Linked DNA regions of Homo sapiens: regions 1 and 3 are each linked to region 2. The links are contacts of gene promoters, found by promoter capture Hi-C in human tissues and cell types (Jung and others, 2019). All regions are on one chromosome and are shown on one strand. Each heading gives the region's core, a stretch centred on a gene start or on the middle of the fragment in contact. The rest is flanking DNA. Distances are from core to core; before and after follow the strand shown. Region 1 overlaps NEK11 (NIMA related kinase 11). Region 2 holds the start of MRPL3 (mitochondrial ribosomal protein L3). Region 3 overlaps CPNE4 (copine 4).

Evidence for each region. Contacts are between HindIII fragments. The study calls those that stand out against the background at their distance.
Region 1: a fragment that was not itself captured here is called in contact with the fragment with the promoter of MRPL3 in region 2 in 2 of the 25 tissues and cell types used here (hippocampus and stomach).
Region 3: a fragment that was not itself captured here is called in contact with the fragment with the promoter of MRPL3 in region 2 in 1 of the 25 tissues and cell types used here (aorta).

The regions. Positions count from the first base shown.
Region 1 is chr3:131,337,633-131,341,306 of GRCh38, reverse strand. All of the region lies in intron 17 of NEK11 (NIMA related kinase 11), which reads right to left. The region is part of intron 2 of NUDT16-DT (NUDT16 divergent transcript); the gene reads left to right. Among named protein-coding and RNA genes, the nearest start is that of NUDT16-DT, 42 kb to the left of the region's middle. The HindIII fragment of the contact is 4,382 bases long and covers 1-3,674 here.
Region 2 is chr3:131,501,721-131,505,667 of GRCh38, reverse strand. It overlaps MRPL3 (mitochondrial ribosomal protein L3), which reads left to right and starts at 2,697. Exons shown (of 10, transcript NM_007208.4): 1 at 2,697-2,938. The coding sequence starts at 2,847. LOC105374114 (a long non-coding RNA gene) reads right to left here and starts at 3,069. Exons shown (of 3, transcript NR_189111.1): 1 at 2,964-3,069. RefSeq lists enhancers at 2,799-2,868, 2,375-3,061. The HindIII fragment of the contact is 5,057 bases long and covers 1-3,947 here.
Region 3 is chr3:131,722,047-131,726,018 of GRCh38, reverse strand. CPNE4 (copine 4) reads left to right here. Exons shown (of 16, transcript NM_130808.3): 3 at 2,394-2,573. Among named protein-coding and RNA genes, the nearest start is that of MRPL3, 220 kb to the right of the region's middle. The HindIII fragment of the contact is 4,257 bases long and covers 1-3,972 here.

The DNA of each region.
Region 1 (3,674 bases), core at 339-2,838, 160 kb after region 2:
TACATTCTAAATAAATTACGGGTCAAAAACAAAATCAGTCATTCCATAAACAAACTCATTTTAGGCTGACAGAAAAGCTATAGGTGTTCTAGTCTTGGAATATTGCCGTGTAAATTTATTCTGATATTTGGAAAACACACTATATTCTGCAATGATGCATTTGAATTTTTAGATTCATAAATAGAAATTCAATTTAAGAGGACTCTCTTGCTGTTATCTAAGATGTGAGAAGGGAGGGCAGTATTCTCTGTGCTGTTCAAATTAAAAGAGTTCCTATGTTTCCTTTTTCAAAGAGAGGGACATGGGGTGGCAGGAACTATTCCTTTAGTTAGCTGGGTATCTCAAATAAAAAGAATTTATATTTTCATTGTTTTCTATTTCTTTCTATGGTGCATTTCCTTTCTAAATTTTATCATTTTCTTCAAGAAACAAAAGCCTTTTAAGTTTTTTAGGGATTGTCAAACATCATTTTAGTCCAAATACTTCATTTACAGGTTGTTTTGCCCAAGATTGAATTGGCAGTTGGGGACAAATAGGGGACTAGAGTCCAGGTTTCAGGACTCTCAGGACAGTGCTCGTTGGGCTGGATAATGGTCCCTTGACACAGGAGTCCTGAAGGAAGGTTCCCTAATGTTCCAAAATTTGAACTGCTTGGGGTCACATCCCGAATACGTGTTTGGCTGACTCCCTTGCTGATGAAAAACTATTAAACACCAAGAAAGCTCTTCTTCTCTCCCCTGCCCATTTCCTCCAAACTCAATCTCTCATCCTCCAAATTCCTTTATTACCTCTTCCTGTGCTTACCTTTCATTTATAAAAAAATACATTTTATCACATCTACTTATTTGCCCATCAATTATAGACTATGCTGTGTACCCTCTAATTATTTATCTCTATCTAATAAGGGCTCTAAAGAATACAGCCATAGCTGCTTAGTTTTATAAGGATAATATCTAAAATGTCCTCATATTTTAAATATTATTTTAATTTTGAATCCCATACTTACAGAAAAGTTACAGGAATAGTATAAAGAACTATTTTGTCCCTGAGTCTTTTGAGAATAAGTTGCTACCCCAATGTCCCCCACTCATACTTTGTGTGTATTTTGTACGAATAAAAACACTTCTACATAACCACAAAACTGCCACCAGAATCAGGAAATTCACATTAATAGATCTGATTCTGTTATCTTGTATATGGAAACATTCAGATTTCCCCCAATTGTCCAATAACACTGCCTGATAACAAAGCATTCAAAATAATCATGAGTTCCATTTACTTGTCATGTCTCTTTAGTTTCCTTCAATGATCTGGATGCTAGAATGTCCCTCAATTTGCATTGCTCACGCCTTTGGGATTTACCAGCTCTTACCCTCTGGTCATCCATCCTTTTATGTATTAGCCTAAAGGATGACTTCAGGAGTAGTGTCTTTCATTATCTTGGGGTATTATTAGAGAGCTCCACCTACACCAGTTCAAGAAGGTTCTTACTGCTCTTGGGTAAAAACAAAGCTTTGATAGTAACAGGAGAGGGATCTTGCCACTTCCAGGTGCCTACTAATGATTCTTCCATGCAATCTGTTCCTGTTCCTGTTTACTGTAAGAAACAAGGACTCCTCTTAGGGAAGGGAAGCAGCTTGTGAAGTGAGTTTCCAGAAGCTCAGAATACAATGCTTTGTCCCAAATATTTCCCTGTACCCCCACCATCACACTTTATAAATCCCACCAGTGAAGGGTACATTCACACAGCTGAAGAAATCACTTCTCAAAGCAGCTGTTAGCTTCTTAGGATAAGGTTCAGGGGCTGCAAAGATGAGCACAGTGAAAAGACCGAAGCCCCGTTAGACACTCTAAGTGCTGGCTGGGATTCTGCCACCAACTTTCTGGGTGGCACTGGGTGAGTGACTTTCACTTTTCAGAGCCTCAGTTACTTCATCTGCAATGTAGACTAACTGATTTCTAAGGATTCCTTCAGCTCTAAATGTTCAATTATAAGTGAGAGCTCAGGAAGACATTCTTTGCTTATAGGTGATCGATAATTATTTGTTGAAAAAATGAAGTAAAAAATGACTTAAAAGCCAGAAGAAAATAGACACTTTGTGAGTCATGAATTTCACTCCTTTTAAAAATAATATCTGAGTAAGCAAATTCTTTTTAAGGGCTTTCAATCATGAGTAATTCTTTCTCAGGGAAAGGAGGGGAAAATAGAAGAAAACTTGTTTTTCAAAGAGTCTGTTAAGTCCCAGGAATGTTTTGTTTTTATTTCATCTTTGGGATTCCCTCTTTTATTTTTTATATATTTTTTAAATTGATAAAAAAATATATATAACAAAATTTCTTCTTTTGAATGTACAGCTCTATGAGTTTGGATAAACTCATTCAGCCATCTAACTCACACCTCAACTGAGATACAGAGCAATTTCATCACACTCCAGAATTCCCTCATATCCTTTTGTAACCAAGTCCTCCCTCCACCCCTTGGTGATAACTGACCTGTTTTTGTTCCTTCAGTTTTGCCTTTTCCAGAATGTCATATGAATGGAATCATTCAGAATGCAGCTTTTAAAGAACTGGTGCCTTTCAATTAACATAGCATCTTTGAGATTCATCTAAACTGCTGTGTGTATTATAATTTGTTCCTTTTATTGCTGATCAGTGTTTCACTGTACGGATGTGCTGCAGTTGGTTTATCCATTCATAGCTGACCAATATTTGGGTTGTTCCTAGTTTTTGAAGATTGTGAATAAAGTTGCTATATGTATTCATATGTAGGTTTTTGTGTGGACATATATTTTCACTTGACTTGGATAAATACCTAGGAGTGGAATTTCTGGGTTGTATGGTAAGTGTATATTTAACTTTATAAGAAACTGCTTATTGCTTCTCAGCCGTTTGGTGAAGATCAAGTGTGAAGAAACCACTCAACTGTTTTCCAAAGCAGATGTTCCATTTTGCATTCCCACCAGCAGTGTATGACAGTCTTAGTTGCTCCATATCCTTGCCAGACTTAGTATTAAAAAAAAAAAAAAAAAAAAAAAAACCAGCTGGGCGCCGTGGCTCATGCCTGTAATCCCAACACTTTGGGAGGCCGAGGCCAGTGGATCACGAGGGCAGGAGATCAAGACCATCCTGGCCAATATGGTGAAACCCCGTCTCTACTAAAAATACAAAAATAAGCCGGGCATGGCGGCGTGTGCCTGTAGTCCCAGCTACTCGGGAGGCTGAGGCAGGAGAATTGCTTGAACCCAGGAGGTGGAGGCTGCAGTGAGCCAAGATCGTGCCACTGCAGTGACCTGAGATCACGCCACTGCCCTCCAGCCTGGGTGACAGAGCAAGACTCCGTTTCAAAAAAAAAGAAAAAAAATTTATGCCAAGCACTTGATATCTATTTTTTAATGTGTTATTTACACAATCATATGAGGTATGCGATATAACTCCTGTTTCACAGTTGAAGAAACTGAGGCACAGATGTTAAGTATCTTAACCACTAAATGGCACTACATGGAGGGGGGGTTCAGATTGATTCTCATTCAGGCTTTGCTCCTAGCTAGCTGTGCAGTCTAGTCACTCAGTTCTGTAGGCCAGTCACTGTCTTCCTTTATAAATGAAGACATTAACTTCTGGAACAATTTCTAAGCTGATTTTTATTTTTATTTATTTTTATTTATTTATTA
Region 2 (3,947 bases), core at 1,448-3,947:
GTCTGAAGGATGACATCAGAAATAACAGGAAGCTCTAGGTCAGTGCCTGACTGCCCTAGAAAAGCCTAGGCTGGGTCCCTTGACAACTGGGCCTAGTAGCTGTCAGCAGCATATTACAGTGACTAAATCAAGTATGACACCACTCAGCCCTGGCTGGCAATCAGGAGACACATTTTTTACGACAGCAGACAAACCATGTTTTACTTTGATTCAGTTCAGCGGTGGTGCCTGCTGTCAAGGTCCTCCTTATGGACTAGGAGATATTTGGTACTATGGGAAAAGGTTAGACCAAATGGCTACCTCTTCAATCCTCACTGACCACTGCGTGTGATTACTTACCGATTTTCCTCTTTAGCCTTAAAGAAATTCCAAGGCAAGAGTAGTGACATATTTGTCATAGAGAGCCAAAGAAACAAAATGTCTAAAAGCATAAGCTCTATCTATGGTCACAGTCTTTGGCTCTACCAGTTAATAGCTGGGTGATTTTATTTAAGTTATGTAATCTCTGTATGCCTATTTTCTTAACTGTAAGATCCAGATAATTATACTATTGTCACAGCAGATTGTCATAACAATCAAGTGAGAAAATACACTGAGAGAGTAAAAATGAATACTATTAGTAACTGGACTGCAGTGTTTATAGCAGAACATCAATACAATATTTCTTTTTTTTTTTTTTGAGACGGAGTCTTGCTCTGTCACCCAGGCTGGAGTGCAGTGGCTCAATCTCGCTCACTGCAAGCTGCGCCTCCCAGGTTCACACCATTCTCCTGCCTCAGCCTCCTGAGTAGCTGGGACTACAGGCACCCGCCACTACGCCCGGCTAATTTTTTTTTGTATTTTTAGTAGAGAAGGGGTTTCACCATGTCAGCCAGGATGGTCTCAATCTCCTGACCTCGTGATCCACCCGCCTTGGCATCCCAAAGTGCTGAGCCACCACGCCCAGCCCATCATTACAATATTTCTTACAGACCGTACTGTAGGCCACACCACTGCAGCAAAATGACTAACAGTTCCTTATTCTGAGTGATTCCTGCTTTCTTATGAACATCATGCCCACTTCCTCTCTGTTCTTCCTGTCTCTAGAACAAAGACTATCAAGATATCCAATTGCTGAACTGTCCTTTCTTCTTGACAGCACCCATTCTAAAACAAGTTCCTGCTTCTCTGATGCCACTTTAAAATCACTCAGCCTTAAGTCCAAATTTCATTTCAAGCCCCTCCCAGGTCACTCTTTTGGAAACATCCTCAGACATATGCTGTCTTTTGCTGCATCAAGCTAATTAAACTTGACTTTGTATGAGTTCACGTTTTCTTCTAGTAGCCTTGGCTTATGGGCTTCCACAATGCTGAGCACATACTCTAGCACACTATATGGATAAGAAATGTTAGTTATTGGCAGTAGTACAGAAATCTTCTTATTCTCAACTTCTTGCATGTAGCACACCTCAAAACATGTTTGTTCAATGAAGAGCCATCCTTAAGTATCTGGGAAGCCAGGCAGCATGGCTAGAATGAAGAGATGTAGTTTTTCCTTCAAGGTCCAAAGTATTATTGAAAAGTGTCTAAGGTAACTGCAACAGCAATGAGTGGAATGAATGGACAAGCAAAGCAAAGATTTTTTAGCCCACTAAAGTCCAAGTAATGGCCAGGAATTGACCATTGTCTGGACCTGTTAAACCAAGATAGCCAGATCTCTAGTAAAAAGAGAAGGTTGAAATAGCTACACTTTAAAGTTCTTATTTCCAAATTTCTACAAACAGTAATCTGACAAATAAGGGAATTAGTAGAAGAATAAATGTCCTAGTCACATACATGGTTATTAGGCTAGATCTGGAACCCAAGACAGGGGATTTTTTGTGCAGGTGTATTAGCTATCTATTATTGCATAACAAATTACCCTAAAGCTTAATGACTCAAAAAAACGGTAATCATTTATTTTCTCTGGCAATTTCTCCTAGTCAGTAATTCATGAGCGGCCTGGCTGGGAGATTCAGGCTTAACGTCTCCATGAGTTGCAGCCGAGGACTGGTGGATCCACTTCCTAGGTGGCTCAGTCATGACTGGCTAGTTGATTCCTCTTTATATGTTCCTCCCTGCAGAGCTGTTTGAGTGTCTGCAGGAAATGAAGGCTAGCTTTCTCCACAGGGAGCAATCCAAGAGACAAAAACTGAAGTAACAATATGTTTTATGATCCAGCCCTAGAAGGCATACATCATTTCTATGGGTGTAGTCTATTGATAACACATGCCAACCCTGTTTCAGTGCCAACTCTGCTCCTCTGCCAGATGTGTTGTTTTGGACCAGCACCTAAATTCTGAGTCAGTTTCCTCATTTATAATAGAAAAATAAATACTTCCTTTCAGGACCGTTTTTTATGATTAACAAATATAGGATTATGAAGCGCTGCTTAGCATAATGCATTGCCTCACAACGGGCACTATTTAGAAGTGTCTTCATTTTCCTTAGCGTCCTCAGGAAGTCTGTCCTTATTCTTCTAAAGTTTAAACTCTGAACATCCCTTTTATTTTACCCCTGGAGAGGCGAGTCAGTCCCTTCCCACCCCTACCTACTCCAACTCACATCCAAAGTAGGACAACGGTGGAAGCAGAACTATAGTTTCCGGGGAGCGACTCGAGTGCCCGGAGTTCATTGTAAAACGCACCGGAAGTGGGTCCGGCGGCTTTCTTTCCGTCGCAGAGAGCATCGGCCGGCGACCGTTCCGGCGGCCATTGCGAAAACTTCCCCACGGCTACTGCGTCCACGTGGCGGTGGCGTGGGGACTCCCTGAAAGCAGAGCGGCAGGGCGCCCGGAAGTCGTGAGTCGAGTCTTCCCGGGCTAATCCATGCCGGGTTGGAGGCTGCTGACGCAGGTCGGCGCCCAGGTGCTGGGTCGACTCGGGGACGGCCTGGGTGCTGCCCTGGGCCCGGGGAACAGGTAGGAAGGTGTGAGGGTGTCCTACCTGCACAGTTGCGTCCTGAAGCAGTGGAATGGCCTGGTGCAGTTGGGCCTCCCCTGGGTGGAGGAGGAAGGGGCTCTGTTGAGACGTGGGACACAGAAGAATAAGGGCCGTTAACCTAAGGAAGCACGTTCTAAGGGGATTGAAGTGGTGATTTTTAAAAAACGCTTATGAGCCAGCCACTAGCAGCGAACGCTATTAACAGCAATCATATCTTACAATTAGTGAGCGTTTGCCAGGTACTAAGCGCTCTGCTAAGTGTATTAGGTGCCTTATGTAGCCTCACGGGAGCAAACTGCTATCATAAGGTTTACAGATAAAACTGAAGGTTAGGGAGGTGAGTTAATTTGCCCAAAGTCACTCAACTAATAAGTGGAAAATTAGGAATCTAGCCTGAATTTATCTGACTACAAAAGGAGAGTAGACTGCAGAAAGCTTTACTTCTGTTCTGACCCTCCATGCAAGAATTACACCCCTTCTTCCTGACCTCCGCCCACTAAGGTCTTTCTTGGTATGTTCACCTGTTCAGAGGTCATGCCTTTTGTGGATCTTTTAACTTTGCACACCCAGTTTCTTCACTTCTCTGAACCTAGGCCATGTCATTGCAGGGAGGAGGTGAGCTTGTTAGACAAAGATCAACATGCCACCTTCTGCCACCTCCACTGAATGTAAAACTATTAAGGTACACTTCCAAATGGGTTAGTGGCTTTTCATGTCTATAGGTAGGACTGTTTTTTGGGGAATATGTTTATCTGCGAGGAGAAGATGAATTTTTTTCTCCAGGGTAACGACTAACAGTTTAAATGTGAGCCTTATCCGAAGGAATGTGGGGAGTGAGGAAAAGGTTGGAGACCTGAAAAAAAGGTATACAGAATCCAAGCCCTTTCCCAAGGCCCTGACTACACTTTCCAATTTGTGACTTCCCTTTTCTATATTAAGTGGAGGAAGTTTTTAAATTGTGGTTTGGTTTTATTTATTTTTTCTTTT
Region 3 (3,972 bases), core at 787-3,286, 220 kb before region 2:
AAGATACAATATAAATATAATTAAATCTCTTATATGGCTCATTATTTCATGAATTTGGACCAGATGTTGCAAAAATGCCTCTAGGGGCCAGGAAGAGAAATTAAATGAAGGAGAAAGGCCTGGAAGTTGCTGTGAGAAGTGAAGAGTAAATGCTTTGTCTAAATGGGACAGTCTCCAATTGTTGCCATGAAGAAATGTGGCCCAAGGTTGCCAGATATTCCAAGTTTTTCTAAAGGAAGGGTAATAAAAACAGCTACCTTATTAAGTGGGAAAATGAAGGGAAAAATACTTTGAGTAGGACAAATAAAGTACCTTCAAGTCAGCTTATCCCTGCAGACTACCAGTTTATGATCTCTAATTTCTATTATTCAAAACTATTATCCCTGAACAACAGAAAAATTATGCTGATATAGTAAATTCTTGTACCTGCACAAATGGCCAGTGGCATAATCAGTCCCATCACCCTCTGAATGAACATCATATAAGAATATAAAATTTAGCTCAAATAGAAGCTGGGTCTTCCTGGGGAAGCTGGAACAGGCAGATAACCTTTGGTCAGAACAGTAACTTGTAAAATTCTAGTCAGCAATGGGCTGGAGATTGGTTTTCTGTATGCCTATTTATTGGATGGGGACATAATCAGAATCATACTCTTCTCCTTGCAACCCGGATTGTCCATCCAACCAATAATGGCAGGTAGTGTTCCTTAAAGGACAATTTTCTCTCACATACATCCCTGCATAGGAAGGGCTAGGGCTGGAGACAAAGCACTGAACTGAAGAATGTTAGGGGTGGCTAGAACAAATATCAGATTTTCTTTGCTAGGCAACATGGACATGCATAATATGGTTAAGAACTGCTTTCCCTTTATTGAGAGACTATTTTCCTTTACTCATATGAAAGTGAGATAAATGCTTTTCATAGTTTGTGCTAACAAATGTCAGAAAACATCCAATAAACCATATTTCTATTTGAAAGCTGACAGTACATAGAGGTTCCAGTTGATTTGTAAAATAGGAAGGATGGGTATCTCTAGTACAGGGATGCTATAGAATCTTGGGTTATCTATAACTTAGTCTTTAAAAGCTTCCCAAAATATAAATGGTTTTGTATATTTTTACTTGTGACAAGTATGTAGGAAAAGAGCCTTAGCGATAAGGATCCTAGTAGAAAACAGATGGCATACCCAAACAGTTTAACCTAAAGGACTAAACTCTGTACACGGGAATGGGCAGGGTTAAAAGAGCCAAGAAAGAAAGTGAGGCATCCGAGACATCAGAGATAGCAACAACAGGAAGCCATTACTACCCCTCAATGTGAAGGGACAAGAGAGAGGCACTATGTTACCAAATCCCAGCAAAAGCTCCCTGTGCAGAAGGAAGTCTGCTAGCAGAATGTGTGTGTATAGAGGCATGCCTGCACCTCTCTGTTCTCCCATTCTCTGATCTCCTGCGAAGTCCTCCATTTGGCTGACTCCAACCAGAACCCAGAGGGCAAGGGTGCCAGGAAAATCAATCCATAGACATCAGTCTCCTATGTCACAGAATAGTGCAGAAAGTGGCAGAGATGTATTAATATCTGAGAGAGGGGGACAACTGAAAAACTATTATCACAGAAGACAAAGGAAATCATAGCTCATGGAATGTTAGAGCAGAAAGGAACTTTTCAACCTCTAATCTAATTTTCATTTTGTTGATGAGAAAACTGAGGCCCAGGGAATTGAAATGAATGGGTGAACATTATACACTTAATAAAGGGCATACTCGAGACCAAAGGCAGTTATTGTCTTATCTATTCTCATGGTTTTTCTACTTCATTATGCTGGAAATCATGGATTAGGAAACTTAGAGTTGGCTAAAATGAGACACCTACATAGCACTTTCTCCATTACTGTGCCCACCAGACATCACTAATCAATTACAGATTTCTTTCCTCCTGAGCCTAGATGTGACCTCAGGCACATTAGGCAGGACAAGGTTGAATCAATCATGAAATGCATCAATCAATCATTTATGCACCTGCATAAACCCAGTGTACTCAAAAATTTTTACTGTTCATAATGTTCACCCACTCATTTCAATTCCCTGGACCTCAGTTTTCCCATCAACAAAATGACATAATGATATAATGATACAATTTTGTATAATGCAAACTCATACAATGAGCTCTAAATCTTCAAGTTATTTACATGTCTAACATTATTTTCTTCCCTAAAACTCGTCTCATTCTCTGAAGGTATTGCCTGTACTTTGTACTTTTGGACTGCCCACCCAATGACTTGCTGGGGAGCATTTATGGTTGGGAAGAAGGGAAGTGCTCTGAGATGAATTTTCTTGAACGGTAATAATAAAAATAATCCTTATCTCTGATAGGTTTTCTCTTTCTCCTTGCAGGTTGACAGGACTGAGGTGATTCGCACCTGCATAAACCCAGTGTACTCAAAACTGTTTACTGTGGACTTTTACTTTGAGGAGGTGCAGCGCCTGCGGTTTGAAGTCCATGACATCAGCAGCAACCACAATGGGCTGAAGGAGGCCGACTTCCTTGGTGGCATGGAGTGCACACTTGGCCAGGTGGGTCAACAGACATCCCTTCCTCCTCCTTGCCATCCTAGGGCCTTTCTTCCTGCCCCCTTTCCCTCTCTTCCTTCATCTAATCCTTGCTTTTTCCTATTGATTGTATTTTCTTTAACATGCAGCATTTTACAACTTCCCAGGTGGTGTCATATCCATTATGTTTATGTAGAGATGATTCTGCAAGTCTGTACGATTTCTTATTTTGAAAAATTCAGAACTTTCTCTTCTGAATTCCCCCACTGTGTCACTCATTTATTCAACAACTATTATTGAGCACTTATGTGTCTGGCACTATGCTCTTTTCACATGTCTGTTATAGCCTTATCCTGTTTCACTATAAATTTCCATCTCCAACTCAGCTGTGAGAACCCCTATGCAGCAAGTATTTCTCATTCACATTTAGTCGACATCTCTGGTACCAAAAATAGCCCAAGGCAGAGGCTAAATGGATACTCAGTGAATGAATAAAAGCTCTTAATTTTCCAACAATAATATGAAATAAATATCAGTATTATATCCATTTTATCAGTGAGAAACCTGAGACTCAGAGAGGTTAAGTGATTTGATGAAGGCTCTACCTAATAAGTAGCAGTGTTAGGACTCTACTAGGTCTTCCTGACTCTAAACTTCATCATTTTGCTTCTGTAATACTTTTCCTTTTTTCCTTTCCTTTTTGTTGTACCCAGAAATGCAGTAAGTGAGTCAAAAAGTAAAAACAGTCCCTGTGCCCAGATAGTGGATAATCTTACTGGAGAAGGCATAGTAATATGCACTTCAAATAGAGCAGTTCATTACAAAATACCCTGGGCTCTCTATACAAGGTCGTAGACCTTAAAGGAAGAGAGAGCTTTTTTCTACTGGGTAGAGTCAAAGAAGGCATTGTGGCACCAAAATCTGAAAAAAACATTATCTAGGGATTGCAGAAGAAAGAGGAGGGGAGACTTCCAAGTAAGAAAGCAATATAAGCAACTCATAGGGGTCAGAACAAACGTGGGGGGGTATGGGGTGGGAAGAGACCACTTTCCCTGACTGAATCAAGATGCTGATTTACTGTGAAATTGATGAAGCTTTAACATCAGATCCCCTCTCTCATGTGGGCCCCTTCCATGGCTCTGTGTCACATTTTTATTTTGTACTTTTTTTCTCAAAGAGAGATTCCAAATTATATGTCTTAAGACCCACAAAATCTGGGTTCACCTCCTGTCAAGGTAAGGGTCAGGTTTAAGGATTTGTCAGGAAGAGTCTACCTGACAAAGAGATGGCAAGCATATATATTTGCTTGTTCATTTGTGCTTACCTTGCTTCATGCCACTTATCACTAAAAGAAATTTCTCCCAGTGAGCACTAAGAGACAAAATAGACAGTGTCCTCTGTTCCCCTTTTCCAGAAAATATAG